2 separate regions of the Homo sapiens genome follow, and region 2 is linked to region 1. Evidence: promoter capture Hi-C in human tissues and cell types (Jung and others, 2019). All regions are on one chromosome and are shown on one strand. The core of a region is centred on a gene start or on the middle of the fragment in contact, and the rest is flanking DNA. Distances in the headings are between cores, read along the strand shown. Region 1 holds the start of RBM24 (RNA binding motif protein 24). Region 2 has its middle 27 kb from the start of DEK.

What was found. Contacts are between HindIII fragments. The study calls those that stand out against the background at their distance.
Region 2: a contact is called between a fragment that was not itself captured here and the fragment with the promoter of RBM24 in region 1, in 1 of the 25 tissues and cell types used here (stomach).

What each region holds. Positions count from the first base shown.
Region 1 is chr6:17,278,411-17,283,537 of GRCh38, forward strand. It overlaps RBM24 (RNA binding motif protein 24), which reads left to right and starts at 2,951. Exons shown (of 4, transcript NM_001143942.2): 1 at 2,951-3,339; 2 at 4,395-4,518. The coding sequence starts at 3,172. The HindIII fragment of the contact is 10,579 bases long and covers 1-5,127 here.
Region 2 is chr6:18,289,229-18,294,355 of GRCh38, forward strand. No RefSeq gene overlaps it. Among named protein-coding and RNA genes, the nearest start is that of DEK, 27 kb to the left of the region's middle. The HindIII fragment of the contact is 3,481 bases long and covers 926-4,406 here.

The sequences.
Region 1 (5,127 bases), core at 1,701-4,200:
CCAAAAGCAGCTGACAAAGCAAAAGGATTATCCAAGCATTGTTTTTCAAACCTGAATTTGTAATGAGTAATTGTACAGAAATATTCGGTACTTAACCTTGAAACCTTGAATTCAGAAAAACTTTATGGCCCCAAGGCTACATGATTTGATGGCTCAGATTCGTAAATCCACCAAGAATGAGGATCTGGCCATTTTAACTGTGTCCACCTTGGTGCAAATGTAAAACAAAACCCACAGGGGCAGCAATGATGCCTACCACAGTGCTTGCCTGGGCGAAGGGAAGGGGGTCTTGATGAAAGTTTGTTGAGATGAACTGGGTATGAATTCTGGCTTCCGTTTAAATACGTTTGGAAAATAAGGAATCTCCATCCCTCTTAACCTTTGTTCTCAGTGACTCACGTAATACCAGTGTATTAGTAATGTTTTAATTATCCCTGGAATTCAAAATTAGGGACCGTCCAGGCAAAGTTTCAGGCAAAGTGATCAAGTATTTACTGTTCCCTTGAAAGAATAAAAACACTGCAGTCAGGGGTTGCACGGGATGGGAGGGACAATGACAAGGAGGCGTCTTATTTCCAGAAGCTGAGTTCTAGGACACAAGTATTCCAACCCGGGATCAGAATTTCCTTGTAGATCTCACCACTTTACCTAGTGAACATCCTAGCTGCTGGCTACACTCCCAGACACCCTCCTTCCCTGATATTATCACAGTCCTCTCCAGGGTGGGCTCCCAATCCAGGTAGGAAGAAAGGCGAGACAGCCAAAGGCGCCCTTCTAAGGCTTCTCTCTAAGCAGCTTCCCTTCACAAAAGGGTTTTGCCTGAGCCTCATCTACGTACAGTAATTCTTAAATGACACAAGATGGATGTTGAATATTAAAAAACACGCCTCTTCTCTTTCCCCGCCTGCTTTGTTTTTCTAACTTTTAAAAATTATCTTTCATCATACCAGCACAGAGAGTCGTTTTTGAACCTGTCCTTTAACTTAAGTAATGAAGAGAGGGTGTTTACAATTTCACTTTCTGGCTCTCATCTGTCTGTAAAATTCTTTATTATTTTTTTAATCGGGTGAAAAAAATGTTTTTAACTTTAATAGATTTCTGATTTCTCTATATCTCCCACTGGGGGTTCAAACTTAAAGAAACCAGTGACGTCAAAAAGTCAACCTCATGAGGAAGTCAGCAAGATGAAAAACGGAATTTAATGTTTTGCACAAGAATATTTGCATTCCCATTAGCCTTTGCAAATGCAACATTTCTCACCCTCTTGGGTTGACTGCAAAGGTGTCCTGGAGAGAAACAGAGTATGCACCTCTCTAACGGTTAACATACTGAATTGTTTTAATGGAATAAATGGTGCGGCTCAGGGGCGATTAATGTAGGGACTGTAGACTCCCGTAGAAAGGACTTAAAAGGCAATTGTGCACCAACAATGGTGGATGAAACCTTCTGCTCACATCAAATATTTTCATCCAAACCTCAAGTATGACTGATTGATTTTAAGGCCTAATTGAATGAATTCTCAATTAAAAGAAGTTGCAAAAAGCTGATGTAAAGTAATAAATATATATGGGGTGCCCTATGTTCTACAAATGCTTTCAGGTCTGCTGGTAGAAACCACTGGTTATGCAATAAGTTGATTTCAAAAATTATACCTTTTACATTTACATCCAGATAAAAACAGATGAGGTCAAGCCACTAAACATTCTTGTAATTCAAAGAGAAAGAAATAGATTAATTCTTTGTTTAGGGAAAAAAAAAAAAAAAGAACGACTTATGCTAAGACATCTGTACCAATCTTCCTGAATAACTAAGTTAGGGAGGAAAGACAAATTTGGTGACTGTGGGGGCTAAAATACTAACTTATGGTCCTCTGAAATAGAAGGCGGTGCCTGATGGACATAGGTATCTCCGGTTACTTGGTTTGGCTGGGCGGTAGCAATTAAAGCTAATGGTTTTCCCAACTACACCCAAGCGCTAGATCTTTCTTTTCCTTCTGGCTCTACCTCTCTGATACTTCCCCGCACTGGCTTTTTGGGGCCAAAGAAAGTTGGGGCCCTCCTTCTCACTCTTCAGACCCCAGGGTGTCCAGCTTGGGTTTCGTTCGGCCGAGCTCCTTGACCCCCCGCGCCCGGGAGGGGATTGGCCTCTCAGCGAATCGCCCCAGGCCTCTGGGGACCCCAGTTCGCCAGTCCAGGTCGCCGGCCCTGTCACCGAGGCCTAACCCAAAAAGCTCGCGTCGTCCCCTCTGGAAAGCAACGCAGCTTCCTCCTTGGGCACAGTCCCCGCACCCTGGGTCCCGGCTGGTGCTGCGCCGGGTCCCTAAGACTTTGACTGGTTAGAGCAGGCGACGCCGAGAGCCAGGCCGCCTACAGGCGTCTCCAGCCCTACCCCATCGCCGGCTACAGAGCGGGAGCCCCGAGCCCCAGCGCCGCGCCGCGCGGGGAGAGAAGCAGCTGTTCCCAACAGCTGGGGGGCGGCGGCGCCCGGCGCCCCAGGTGCTGCCGCGGCCAATCGCAGGCGTCCGGCCCGCCCCCCTCCCCAGCCGGGCGTCGACCCCCGGCCCGCGGGGGAAGGGAGCAGAGAGGTGGAGAGCTGTCCTCGGCACTCGTCTTCCAGATCCCACGGCGGGAGGGACAGACCAGAGCCGAAGCTGCGCGGAGTTCCTCGCCCCTGGCCCCGCCGCCGCGCCCCCCGCCCGCTTCGGCGCTCGGACGCTCTTCCCGCGGACCCTCCCCACACCCCACCCAAGGCACCTGATTCCTAAGGAAGAAAAATCTACCTCTAAAGCACCCGCTTCTTCGCTTGAGAACTACCCTCTCTTTTCATTTTTGGCCTCCCCGCCGGGTGAGTGGAAACCGCTTGCACATTCTATAGAACCCGATTCTAATCCAGACGATCCGGAGAATTTGTACGGTGACCGGCAGGGGGGGCGGGAGGAGAGAGCGAAGTCAAGTCTCCAGGGCCGCTGGCGACTTCGGAAGCCGCGCGCCCGGCGCTCTCGGCCGCCCCCGGCCGCTCGCCCCCGCCGCGCCGCCGCCCTCGCCCCCGGGCTCGCCCTTGGCCCCCGGCGGCCGCGAAAGGGTGCGGGAGACGCGGAGCCGGAGGAGGAGGCGCAGCCGCTGCCCGAGCCGCAGCCGCAGCCGGAGCCCGAGCCGCGGGGCGGGTGCGAAGATGCACACGACCCAGAAGGACACGACGTACACCAAGATCTTCGTCGGGGGGCTGCCCTACCACACCACCGACGCCAGCCTGCGCAAGTACTTCGAGGTCTTCGGCGAGATCGAGGAGGCGGTGGTCATCACCGACCGGCAGACGGGCAAGTCCCGGGGCTATGGATTTGTAAGTTGCACGGACTGGGGGTGACGGGGAGGGACGGAGTGGCGGCTGACCCCGGGGATCGGGAGCTTGGAGTGAGGGGCTCGGCGTGACCCGTGAGGAGCCCCGCGGGTAGAGCGGCGCTGCCCCTTCGCTCCGGGGTGAACTGAAACTTTGCTAGGGGAGAGGGTCGGCGCCAGCCTCGCGGGGTTCGGAGAAGACCCAGCGCTGTGCGAGGTCGGGGGCCGGGCAGGGCAGAGCAGGGGTGAAAGGAGAGACCTGTAATGACGGCGGGATTTGGGGTGCGGAGGGTTGCGAGGGAGGGGCCGCAACCCTGAACAATTGCATTCCCGGGCTGGATGCCGGTTGTTAAGCGCGCTGTTGCTTTGTAAAAATGCGTGTGTTCTGGTGTTTTGGCTGGGGCAGGGAGGGGACACCCCACGAGGTCTGGGGCTGTTGCCCTTGTGTCATCCCCCCGCCTTTTAACTGCAAAGGTAGGTTCTTTTAAATCATGATCCTAGGGCTCTTTGCCGAACTGAAACAGAGCATATTAAGCTTCCTTCCTAGAGATTTAAGCGTGCAAATTCAGCTGCCGAAGAGCAGGGAGCCCCAGAGTAGGACAATAGCTATTGTCGTTGGGGAGTGTTTTCGAGGTTGGGAGCGTTGGGCGGATGTAAGGCTGGACTTTCTTTAAAGCAAACGGTGCCTCTGAGGCTGAGTAGGGACCTGGGGGGCGGGGGATTCGGGGGAAGGAGGATCTAGAGTTCCAAGAATTTAGGCTTCCAAATCTCGGCTAGGCCCTACTAACACCCTTAAGATTTCGGCGGTGGGGTGGGGGGAGGCAGGGTTAGAGGGTTTCTTTCTTTTTTCCTTCGTCTACCCGCCCCCCCCCCCCACGCCCCCGCCCGCCTGTTAAAAATGGGAGATCAAGGAGGAGGGTCCAGCCAAAAGAAGCAAAGAATAGAAAAAAAGTTTGATCTCAGTTTTATCATGAATGACTTCTCCATTGTGATTCTTGATTTCCTTCATGGGTTAATTTAGAGGTTATGTATGTATGTCTGTGTGTGTCTGTTGCTAAGGTCACCATGGCTGACCGGGCTGCTGCCGAAAGGGCCTGCAAGGATCCCAATCCCATCATTGATGGCAGAAAGGCCAACGTGAACCTGGCATACTTAGGAGCAAAACCAAGGATCATGCAACCAGGTGAGAAATGTCTGTCTCCCCTACCCCCCTCTCCAAGAACCCCCCATTTATGGGTGGGATGATTCTCTAATTTAGAAGACATTGTCTCTTTCTGTAGATGTGTTTAGTAAACTTGAACCATGGCTTGTTATTCTACCAAGGCATTAAACATAAATGAGAGTTGTAAATACTCCTCTCAAGGCTTGAAATGTACCTGTGTGCAAAAATGGATCTTGGGGGTCGTGCAGGAAGAAGAGTTAGTCATGTCTCACCTGTTTCCTATATGGCATACATTTGTAGTCTGCTCTCAATTTTCCAATTTTTAGCCACCTGTAGATAATTCACATGTGGATTATATAGGCCAAATTTGTCGACTTCAGCTAATATACTTCCCTACTTAGTGGTGTCTCTCCTTTTAGCACCAGTTGCACTGTGCTCAGAGCAGGCAGTCTGACTTGAACACAGACCCAAGGGAAGCATTAAGGGGTAGGGGCGATGTCCAAATGGTAAAGGTTTTGTTTTTTTTTGAGATGGAGTTTCGTTCTTGTTGCCCAGGCTGGAGTGCAATGACGCGATCTAGGCTCACTGCAACCTCCGCCTCCTGGGTTCAAGTGATTGTCCTGCCTCAGC
Region 2 (5,127 bases), core at 1,416-3,915, 1.0 Mb after region 1:
ACGGGAGGCTGAGACAGGAGAATGGCCTGAACCCGGGAGGTGGAGGTTGCGGTGAGCTGAGATCGCACCACTGCACACCAGCCTGGGTGACAAAGTGAGACTCCGTCTCAAAAGAAAAAAAAAAACACAGGTCAAAGTTAGTGAGAACCTAAATGAAAGTTGTGGCAGAGGGGATTGGGAGGAGGGGCTAGATGGGATAGATGGGATATAAATAGTGTTAATGGGACTTGGTGACTGATTGAATACGGCAGGTGAGAGATAGAGGGAGGAATCTAAAAATAAATCCTAGAGACCTGGTTTGGGTTTATGGTACACGGTGCAGTCATAGAAAAGGAGGAGCAGGGCTGGGAGAATGAAAACCTGTAACTTCAGTCCAATGTGCCTTAGGGTGTGTAGGTCAGGAACTCTGACTCTGCCTTTGAATCCTGCTCCTGTATCCTCCTAACTAAGCTTCCATTCTACCTCAACACCCATTGTCATGACTCCTTTTCATAGTTGGCCCTTAAGCCTTCATTTCTGGGGTTATTTAACTATTGGGAGTTCAAACCCTGCTTCCTAGAGTTTGTGAGCCAACAGAATGTGTTTGTTTGTTTGTTTTTGTTTTCATTTTTGTTTTCTGAAAACAAATGAAAATGAACTAGTTGATAGAAATATGAGTACACTTGTAAATAGAGGATGTTAAAATGGAACTGTTTTAGTTTCCGTGTTAGCTGTGGCCTAAGACAATAGAAGCCGCCTTCCAAAGTCAGGTAAGAATACAAAGCAGGTGGAAAAGGAAGCACAGGAGAACAGGTCAGCATTGTCCTCCAACCAGGTTAGCTCACTGACCACATCCAGCCAATGAAACAGGTAGGAGAGGCCAAGAAGATAAAGATTAGAAGATGATTTTTAGAGAGTTGATGATGGGCTTGAGTCCCTCCCTCCTGGCCACCATGGGAGAGGGGTGTAAGGTCCTTGCCCCTTCAACCTACATCTAGAGATAGGAGTTTTATGCAGACCATTTGGAGTACTTAATGTGCATCCCCCCACAGATTGAAAGGCATAGTGGACCAGTATGCATGCCTGAGAAATCTAAAGAACAAGAGACCTGCTGGCTGGCTCCTCTGATGGTGGAGCAAAAGAGATGTAGCACATTGTCTTATAGTTTGATAGAGCACAGAGTTGTTTCCCAGAGACCAAAGGTAGACCACACAGGTCACTGACGGGGCCTGGGGTCATCTCAAATCATGTGTAAGCATGCCTTTTGGACCCCAGCAAGAAACAGCCATAAGTAACCATCTGCAGAAAGCAATCTGCAGGTGAAATATCTCCAGTGATGAGAGTGGGCTGGGAGCGTCTCTACTTCCCAACTTCCCATCTCCACCACTACCATCCCACCTGGGCTCAAGAGAAGAAGTAAGCTTTATTTATTTATTTATTTATTTATTTTTTGAGATGAGTCTCGCTTTGTCGCCCAGGCTGGAGTGTAGTGGCACAATCTCTGCTCACTGCAACCTCCGCCTGCCGGGTTCAAGCAATTCTCTGCCTCAGCCTCCTGAGTGGCTGGGATTACAGGCGCCCACCACCACGCCCGGCTAATTTTTTTGTATTTTTAGTAGAGACAGGGTTTCACCATCTTGGCCAGGCTGGTCTTGAACTCCTGACCTTGTGATCCACCCGCCTCGGCCTCCCAAAGTGCTGGGATTACAGGCGTGAGCCACCGCGCCCAGCCCGAAGTAAGCTTTAAATGCCCACCAAGCCTGTAGATCACCAGCCTTAGGTCATTGCAATTGTCTTAATCAAGGAAGAACTTTCCTTCTGCCTCTTCCTCTCCCTACCGCTTCCCCAGAATGAGGGATTAGTATCAGAAACTGGGGTTGCCTAAATTAGCAATCTAGCTAAGGAGAATACAATCTTCCCATGTCTACCTTCCCCAGTACAAGTGGCTGGCGTTCGTTCATTCAGCAGGCCACAGCTGAAGGAGGAGGAGAGGTTTAACTTCACATCAAGTTGGAAGAGTTGGAGTGCTATATTAGATTGGACACATCGATTACAAAACTGTGACTGATTTTCTGGACTTGGGGTGACTTGAAGTGTTTTCATCATTTAAGAATAATTAGAAAAGTCATGGCAAGCTGGCTGCAGTGGCTCACGCCTGTAATCCCAGCACTTCGGGAGGCCCAGGTGGGTGGACTACTTCAGCCTTTAACTCCTGGGCTCAGGGAATCTGCCCACCTCAGCTTCCCAAAGGGTTGGGATTACAGACGTGAGCCACTGCACCCTGCCCGGATCTTCTTTACTCAGATTTACTCAAACTTCAGATGTTAATCTCTCTCTCTCTCTTTTTTTTTTTTTTTTTGACAGAGTCTTGCTCCATCACCCAGGCTGGAGTGCAGTGGCATGATCTCGGCTCACTGCAACCTCTGCCTCCTGGGTTCAAGCGATTCTTCTGCCTTAGCCTCCCAAGTAGCTGGGATTAGGCACCTGTCACCACACCTAGCTAATTTTTGTATTTTTAGTAAAGATGGAGTTTCACCATGTTGGCCAGGCTGCTTTCAAACTCCTGACCTCAAATGATCCGCCCACCATGGCCTCCCAAAGTGCTGGGATTACAGGCGTGAGCCATCGCACCCGGCCTCAGATGATAATCTCTTGCACAAACACCCTCACAGATATATCCAGAAATGATGTTTGACCAACTATCTGGGTATCCCATAGTCAAGTTGACACATAATATTAATCATCACAAAGAGACAGTGGAGAAAACAGACCCCTTCGGTATAATAGTCATGTAAAACCATCTATAGATTTTCAGTGATATATGATTAGCAAAAGGATAGAAGAGAAGGGCAGAGATGGCTATTTTATGAATTAAACGTATTCACAGAAATGTCACAATAACTTTTTATTTCTTAAAATGATGCTAGGAGCATTTAAATCAGTTTACGTATATATTAGGTAATTTTATTTATTTACTTTTTTTTTTTTTTTTTTTTGAGATGGAGTTTCACTCTTGTTGCCCAGGCTGGAGTGCAATGGCACGATCTTGGCTTACTGCAGCCTCCACCTCACGGGTTTAAGCGATTCATCTGCCTCAGCCTCCCAAGTAGTTGGGACTACAGGCACGTGCCACCATACCTGGCCAATTTTTGTATTTTCAGTAGAGATGGAGTTTCACCATATTGGCCAGGCTGGTCTGGAACTCCTGACCTCGTGATCCGCCCGCCTTGGCCCCTCCCAAAGTGCTGGGATTACAGGCATGAGCCACCGTGCCTGGCCTATTTACTTATTTATTTATTTATTTATTTTTTGAGATGGGGCTCTGTTGCCCAGGATGGACTGAAGTGGTGCTATCATGGTTCACTGCAGCCTTGAATTCCTGGGCTCAAGCGATCTTCCTGTCTCAGCCTCCTGTGTAGCTGGGACTACAGGCATGTGCCACCATGCCTGGCTAATTTTTTAATTTTTTGTAGAGATAGGGGTCTCCCTATGTTGCCTAGACTGGTCTTGAACTCCTAGGGTTAAGCAATCCTCATGCCTTTAATGCTGGGATTATGAGCATGAGCCACCATGCCTGGCCTACATTAGGTCATTTTATTTTTAAAAATTATTTAATAAATTATTTATTTGTGAGACAGGGTCTCACTCTGTCACCCCGGCTGGAGTGCAGTGGCATGATCTTGGCTCACTGCAACCTCTGTCTTCCAGGCTCAAGCAATCCTCCCACTTCAGCCTCCCAAGTAGCTGGAGCTACAGATGCACACAACCATGCCCAGCTAATTTTTAAATTTTTAGTAGAGATGAGGTCTCCCTATGTTGCCCAGGCTGGTCTTGAACTCCCAGGCTCAAAGGATCTGCCTGCCTCGGCCTCCCAATGTGCTGGGATTACAGGTGTGAGCCACTGTGCCTGGCCTACATTAGGTAATTTTAAAATGAGGTTTACAATCTGTTCTACAGCTGGGGAAATGATCTGAGATATTGCCTGGGTGTAATAAGCACATAAGACATTCTTCTCCTTCTGTTCCAGAGAATCACAGAAGCAATAAACAGCTAAGATTTATTGTTCACCATTTGTATTCTGCTACTGATCAATTAAAACAAAACAAAACAAATGTGTGTGTTCCTGTAAAACAATAAAGATGATGCCCATTAGCCAATAAAATGTAGAATAAACAAGAATGCTAATGGCTTTCTCTTTTCAGCTTTTAGGAATTTTAAAAGGGCTTTAAATTAGCTTTTAGATTATCTTCCCAGAATTTGCAACATTATTACTCAATCGAAGTCTTTTAATGGCAAAGGAGTGAAAAGGGACAATCTAAATAACATTTCTATTAATGTGTTCCTAAAAGTTGAAAAGACAACTTGAAAAACACGTGTGAGTTGCACATAAAATGTTTACAATGGTGGGGAACACATGCAATTTATTTCATAGAAGTGGAACTTTGGACCCAGAGGTAGGCTATTAGATTGGCCTGGAAAGATGGAAGAAAGATGACGACTGGGCACGAAGGCATGACTCAGCCTTCTGTGGTTCCAGTGTAAAACCTTCCTGTGCCTGTAGAATTCTAAGGGCAATGCCGTGTTGCCCTGGTGTGCTGCTGAATGCCTGCTATCCTTTAGTATAGTCGTAAGAGCATGAGTGCTAGAATATGCCTCAGGCATAGTCCATTTTCTTTCTCTTTCTTTTTTATTTTTTTGTTTGAGACGGAGTCTCGCTCTGTCACCCAGGCTGGAGTGCAGTGGCACGATCTTGGCTTACTGCAAGCTCCGCCTCCCGGGTTCATGCCATTCTCCTACCTCAGCCTCCCGGTAGCTGGGACTACAGGTGCCTGCCACCACGCCTGGCTAATTTTTATTTATTTATTTATTTATTTTTTTTTGTATTTTTAGTAGACACGGGTTTTACAGTGTTAGCCAGGATGGTCTCAATCTCCTGACCTTGTGATCCGCCCGCCTCGGCCTCTCAAAGTGGTGGGATTACGGGCGTGAGCCACCGCGCGTGGCCAGGCATAGTCCATTTTCTATTATTGCTTTTTCCCCGTGGTAGGTAAAATGCCAAGGTGTGGCCCAGGATTCCTACCTGCTGGTATCTACACCCTGTAAAGGAAGGGTCTCCTTGAGTGTGAGTGTGACTTGTGAAGATGATGG